Regions from separate parts of the Homo sapiens genome. Here region 2 is linked to region 1. Evidence: promoter capture Hi-C in human tissues and cell types (Jung and others, 2019). All regions are on one chromosome and are shown on one strand. The core of a region is centred on a gene start or on the middle of the fragment in contact, and the rest is flanking DNA. Distances in the headings are between cores, read along the strand shown. Region 1 holds the start of TMEM109 (transmembrane protein 109). Region 2 holds the start of SLC15A3 (solute carrier family 15 member 3).

What was found. Contacts are between HindIII fragments. The study calls those that stand out against the background at their distance.
Region 2: a contact is called between the fragment with the promoter of SLC15A3 here and the fragment with the promoter of TMEM109 in region 1, in 2 of the 25 tissues and cell types used here (IMR-90 fibroblasts and adrenal gland).

What each region holds. Positions count from the first base shown.
Region 1 is chr11:60,912,717-60,915,636 of GRCh38, reverse strand. TMEM109 (transmembrane protein 109) reads right to left here and starts at 1,479. Exons shown (of 4, transcript NM_024092.3): 1 at 1,369-1,479. It overlaps TMEM109-DT (TMEM109 divergent transcript), which reads left to right and starts at 1,574. Exons shown (of 2, transcript NR_186356.1): 1 at 1,574-1,677; 2 at 2,160-2,471. RefSeq lists enhancers at 681-850, 245-1,243, 2,242-2,920 and a silencer at 1,031-1,190. The HindIII fragment of the contact is 7,495 bases long and covers 1-2,920 here.
Region 2 is chr11:60,950,801-60,953,720 of GRCh38, reverse strand. SLC15A3 (solute carrier family 15 member 3) reads left to right here and starts at 1,545. Exons shown (of 8, transcript NM_016582.3): 1 at 1,545-2,727. The coding sequence starts at 2,170. RefSeq lists an enhancer at 1,233-1,372 and silencers at 1,553-1,782, 2,103-2,262. The HindIII fragment of the contact is 25,133 bases long and covers 1-2,920 here.

The DNA of each region.
Region 1 (2,920 bases), core at 230-2,729:
TGTCCCGCCGCTGCTCATAGCTGCCCCTAAGGAGCGGCGGTTCTCAACTTTGGCTGCCCATCGGAACTGCCTGTGCAGCCTGTTAAACAAGGACGTCTGCCCCACCCAGGGCTACTCACTCAGACTCTTCCAGAGAGGGACTCAGCCCTTTGTTTTGCAAAGCTCCTCAGGAATTTCGGATGCATAGCCAGCAGCTCAGGGAAAAGTCTAAGCAAAGCTTCAAAAGTGCAGCAGTGTACAAAGGACCCCTGACTTCCGTCCCAGGCTCAAGTGTGCCACGGACTAGAAGCTACTACCTTACGCCTGTTACTTAACCTGCCTGAGTTGCAGTCTCCTCAAACGTAAAAGGGAGTGAACCCAGGTGAAGAGTTGCTGTAAGGAGTTAAGATATTTCTGCAGCAAGCGCTTTGTAAACTAAACATCTATAGAAATGTTGCAGCACACACATTACCACTGACTATATATCGTAGCATAATTTAGCAGTTTATCAACCTGCCTTCCCCAGTAGACCGAGCGACTCCCGGTTAGACTTGACATGTTGGAATCCCCAGCGCCTAGTAGGAAAGATGACTAATAAATGTTTATTAAATGAATATTAGCAACCTGCCAAGAAACCGTGAGGGTCGAACGAGAAAGCCATGGAGAGGTGAGGAGGGAGGTTATTTTAATAGTAGATCCAAATATACAGCAGCCACACGAGAAGCACAGCTGAGTCTAAAGGAAGGTCCTAAACAAGGCGAAGCCGCCACTGCAGAGAATGAAGTCAGCGCCCTGGCAGGTTGGGGGCAGCTCCCACTAAACCCCTGACAGCTGCTGCCCAGCAACTGTTTGGGGGCAGGGCGACGGCAAAGGGGCAGCTTCCCTGCCGCTCCGCGCCCTAACCGGGGCGCAGCCTCCCGGAGACAGGGTGTCAGTGGCATGTGCTATTTCGAACGGCGCGTCCCCTGCCAAGCGCTGAGGGGTAGCGTCGCTGGCAAGGAACGTGGCGCGACCCATGAGTTTGGGGCCCCCCGAAGGGCTCGAGCCGAGGCTGCAGGAGGCTGGGCCGTGGGTCGGGGTTCGGGGGCTCGGGCTTGGCGCTGGCCTGGTCCCCACGCCCGGGAGCCGCTCCACCTCTGCCGGACCTCGGAACCTCGCCGCAACCCTCTTCTCCCCGGAAACGTGCGCCTCCCGGGTTGCCTGGAAACGACGCCCCCGGTTGCATAGCAACGGGGATCCGGGTCCCCGGTTTGTTTCGCACGCTGGGCGCGCGGACCCCTCCCCACTCGGACTCTCCAGGCCTCGCGGCTCCGCCTGGTGCCGCCTGCAGCGGCTGCTGTCTCCCCTTCCCGTGCGCTGCCCCACATTCCGACCTCGGCCCGCTCTCACCTTTCTCAGGCCACTGCTATCCTTCACGTGCGACTTCGCTGAAACGCGCCACCAAACCCGCGCCTCAACTCGGGGCGCTGGTTTACCTTCTCCGCATGCGCAAGGCGGGATGAGCTCGGAGACTAGCCGGCCTTCCTCACAATCGAAGCCTGTGCCGGGAGCGCATGCGCCCCGCTTTATCTATTGCGTTTCTTTTTCCCCCCACAAGCATTCCCACCGAGAGAAGAATGGGATCGGAAGTTCCAGCAGGGAACGGAAGTCTCTGGCTGGAAAGGGGAAATAAGTGACTATATCTGGGCTGTAGAGTGGGTAAACTGGATCTTTGAAATCGGAGTGGAAGCTAATCCTCCTCTTGCCACCACTCGGCATTTTGGGTCATGTAGTTCTAGAGCTACAAATGTTCCCTGGGGCATTGTGGGCAATGTAGTTCTAACCGAGCCGCTAACGAGCACCTAGTCTTCCCATACACTTTTCGCGCTAAAAAGGCACAAAAGAGAAAGATATTAAAGGAGCAATTAAAAGCACACTGCTCTAGGAAAACGAATGCGCTCCCCCAGAGAGAAAATTCATACCTGAATACTGTAGACGGCTCCCAAATGTTAGCTCAGAATTTCAGAGAAAGAGAGGAACCAACTCTCACTCTCCTTTTTCTGCCACAAAGGCAGTGCATAGGGACAGGAGGCAGATAAATGCTAGGTAGAAAAGAGCGGGTCCCTGGTGAAACCCCACCCTCAAGCCAAAAAGCCTGAAACCATGGCCCAAAGTGAGAACTTCTATCCATGTTTTTCCAGTTGAATGTTGCCTTTTCCTAAGCCACCCATGGCTCTGCCCTGCCTCATCCTGTGCCTAGAAAGACCCCAGACTCATCTGGCAGAGAGGAGAAGCAGCTGGATGAGGGGACGACCATGGCTGGATGTCAGAGAGAAGCAGCTTGTCTTCAGAGGGACAGCTTAAGGCGTAACTTCTGAGACGAATCTGGCTGGAGATAGCTGGACTTCAAGGGAAGACTACATACCGGCCTGTCCCACCCCCCTCTTTTCAGCTCACCTTCCCTCTGAAATCCACTTTGATCAGCAATAAAATCCCAGGCATTTGTCCTTTAATTTGTTCGTGCAGCTTTATTTTTCTTGGACGCTGGACAAGAGCTCGGGAGCCACGAGTGCGGATACAAAAGCTGTCACGCTGGCCCTCTGCCCTTGCTGGTGGAGGGCAACCGCGGGCCCACGGAGCTGTTAACACTTAAGCTGTCCACGGACGACAGAGCCAAAAGAACACTGTAACATGCCCTCTGGGGCTTCAGGAGCCTCAGGCACTCTGCCTGGACACTGCCCCGGGGCCTGCACGGAGTTCGCTCCTGCCGGTGTCCAAAAGCGCACGCTCTGGCTCCTGCACCCACTCACCTGCACGCTCCCTCCTATGAGGGGTGGAACGCGGTGAATCTTGAGTGAGTGGAGTGTGATCCCACTGGTGCTGAAAAACGGCTGGCTTGTTCCAGCGCTTGTGCACTCCAGTTCCCGCCTTGTTCACTTGCGTACTCCCTCCCATGAGGAGT
Region 2 (2,920 bases), core at 296-2,795, 38 kb before region 1:
AGTGGCCCACAACTGTAATCCCAGGACTTTGGGAGGCCGAAGCAGGTGGATCATGAGGTCAGGAGTTTGAGACTAGCCTGACCAACATGGTGAAATCCCATCTCTACTGAAAATACAAAAATTAGCCAGGCGTGATGGCACGCGCTTGTAATCCCAGCTACTCAGAAGGCTGAGGCAGGAGAATTGCTTGAACTCAGGAAGTGGAGGTTGCAGTGAGCCGAGATTGTGCCACTGCATGGCAGCCTGGGCGACAGAGTGAGACTTCGTCTCAAAACAAACATACAAACAAACAACAACAACAAAAAATCCCTCGCTTTTTTGCTGGTATCTATAGTGCTTTTTTTGCTGGTATCTATAGCTTTTGTGAGACTCAGTTTATTTAGCTTTAGCTTTCCTGATATTATTATTCTTACAAATTTTGCCTTGGGACACTCTTTCCATTCATTGATTCAGGCAATACTTATTGAGCACCTACTATTTGCCAAGCACTGGGAAGCCATTGAGAATAAAACAGTGAAGAGTTAGAAAAGGTCTCTGATCTGATGGAGGGCCTATTCTACTGGTGCTAACTGAACAAGTAATATGTGCTCTGAAGACATTAAAACAAGACAATGTGATGGGGGATGCTGAGAATCCAGTAGGAAACTACTTAGATGGGAAAATCAGGGAAGGTCCCTACAAAGGAGACATATATGCTGAAACCTCAATAAAGAGAAGCAGCCAGCCATGCAAGGATATGGAGGGAGAGCAGTTATGGCAGAGGGGTCAGCAAAGACAAAGGCCCTGAGGCAGGGAGGAGCTTAGCATGGAAGGGGAACCTGGGAGGCCGGCTGGCTGGACTTGAGTGAACATGGGGCTGAGATGAGATCAGAGGAGAGCAGAGGCCAGATCCCCCGGGCTCCTAGGTCAGGGTGGGGCTGGTGCTTAGGAGTTCTGAGGCTGACTCTGATTTAGTCTGAGGTCGGTGTCCCTCTCAATCCCGACTCACTTGTGGTCCTCTATGGCCCGCAGGCTTGTTGAAAGTGCCCCACTTCCTTCCTCACAGCAGCCTCTGTGCAATCCGAATTGCGCTGTGAATTTCCCTGCCACTCAGGAGCCCGGGGCAGGGCTTCACCCCTAGTTCAGTTACCAGGAACCAATCTTTCTCCACCTTCCTGCCCTAGCCCCACTGGGTCTGTCTCTGCATCTGTGAAATGGCTGAGTGTGACCAAATGATGCAGGTAGCCTTTCCACTTCTTTCTACCCGTGGCGCCTCGGGTGGAGGCGTGGAGTTTGATTGGAAGAGGGTAAAGCAAAAGTGGAATCCTGGCGAGAAATGAAACTGAAAGAAAAAATTCCTCCTGGAATTTTTTGGCTCTAAGGAGGCCAGCAGCGGGGGTTTGGGGTAGGAGGCAGAGGTAGAGAAGGAGGGAGGTTTTTAGAAAGCTGACCGGGCAGGAGCCCTGTGACCCAGGCTTTCACTTCTCCTAAACACCCAGTAGCGCCATGTGATGCAGGCAGGGGACTGCGGATAGGGCCTGTGAAAGGGGAAGCGAGGGGAGCCCAGAGTTTCTCAAGAAGCCGAGAGAGGGACAGAGGCTGAGCCTGGGGGGAGGGCTGCAGGGGACTGAGAGGGGAGTGTAGGCAGTGGGGGTGAGGGGGACAGGGAGGAGGTGGAGAAGACGGCAAGGGGCAGCAGGGTGACTGGGGCAGAGGGAGCCCCCACCCCACGCCCAGGGCAGGCCAGGAGTCATAAGGAGAGGGGACAACAGGAAGGGGCGACAAACGGGGAGGGGAAAGGGAGGCGGAGGGGCAGCGAAGTGAAGCAGGGAGGGTCGCAGTGTGAACAAGAGTGCGAGGAAGGGTCAAGGTGGAGGGAGGAGAGGGGAGAGTTAGGGAGAAACAGCTGCAGGAGAGGCGCGGGGAGGAAGCCTTAGGGGTGGGGGAAGGGAGAGGGGAGTTGAGAATTAGGGAGGAGGTGGTAGAGTCCGGGTAGTGAGCGGAGGGACAGGAAGGGTAGGGCAAGAAAGGGAGAGGGGACAGGAGGGAAGGGTGGGCCAAAGCGGTGAGAAAGGAGGGCCAGCCAGTTGGGTGGGGGAGAGGGCCGAGGCCCGGGGGCAGGAGTGCAGGGCTCTGAGGCGGGGAGAGGAGAGGAGAGAAGAGCCGCGGGGGGCCCAGCCCGGAGCCAGGATGCCCGCGCCGCGCGCCCGGGAGCAGCCCCGCGTGCCCGGGGAGCGCCAGCCGCTGCTGCCTCGCGGTGCGCGGGGCCCTCGACGGTGGCGGCGGGCGGCGGGCGCGGCCGTGCTGCTGGTGGAGATGCTGGAGCGCGCCGCCTTCTTCGGCGTCACCGCCAACCTCGTGCTGTACCTCAACAGCACCAACTTCAACTGGACCGGCGAGCAGGCGACGCGCGCCGCGCTGGTATTCCTGGGCGCCTCCTACCTGCTGGCGCCCGTGGGCGGCTGGCTGGCCGACGTGTACCTGGGCCGCTACCGCGCGGTCGCGCTCAGCCTGCTGCTCTACCTGGCCGCCTCGGGCCTGCTGCCCGCCACCGCCTTCCCCGACGGCCGCAGCTCCTTCTGCGGAGAGATGCCCGCGTCGCCGCTGGGACCTGCCTGCCCCTCGGCCGGCTGCCCGCGCTCCTCGCCCAGCCCCTACTGCGCGCCCGTCCTCTACGCGGGCCTGCTGCTACTCGGCCTGGCCGCCAGCTCCGTCCGGAGCAACCTCACCTCCTTCGGTGCCGACCAGGTGAGTGGCAGGAGGCCTGCCCCGGCATACTCCGGCGGGTGTGGAGGGAAGGAGGGCTGGCCCCCAGCGTGACCTGGGACAAACCAGGTCCCCTGCCTGCACTAGTTTCCTGATTTGAAAGAAGAGGGGGGCTAGCCCTTGCAAAACCGATGGCAACCGCAGTGGGAATAACCATGGTTGTTTTTTTGTTTGT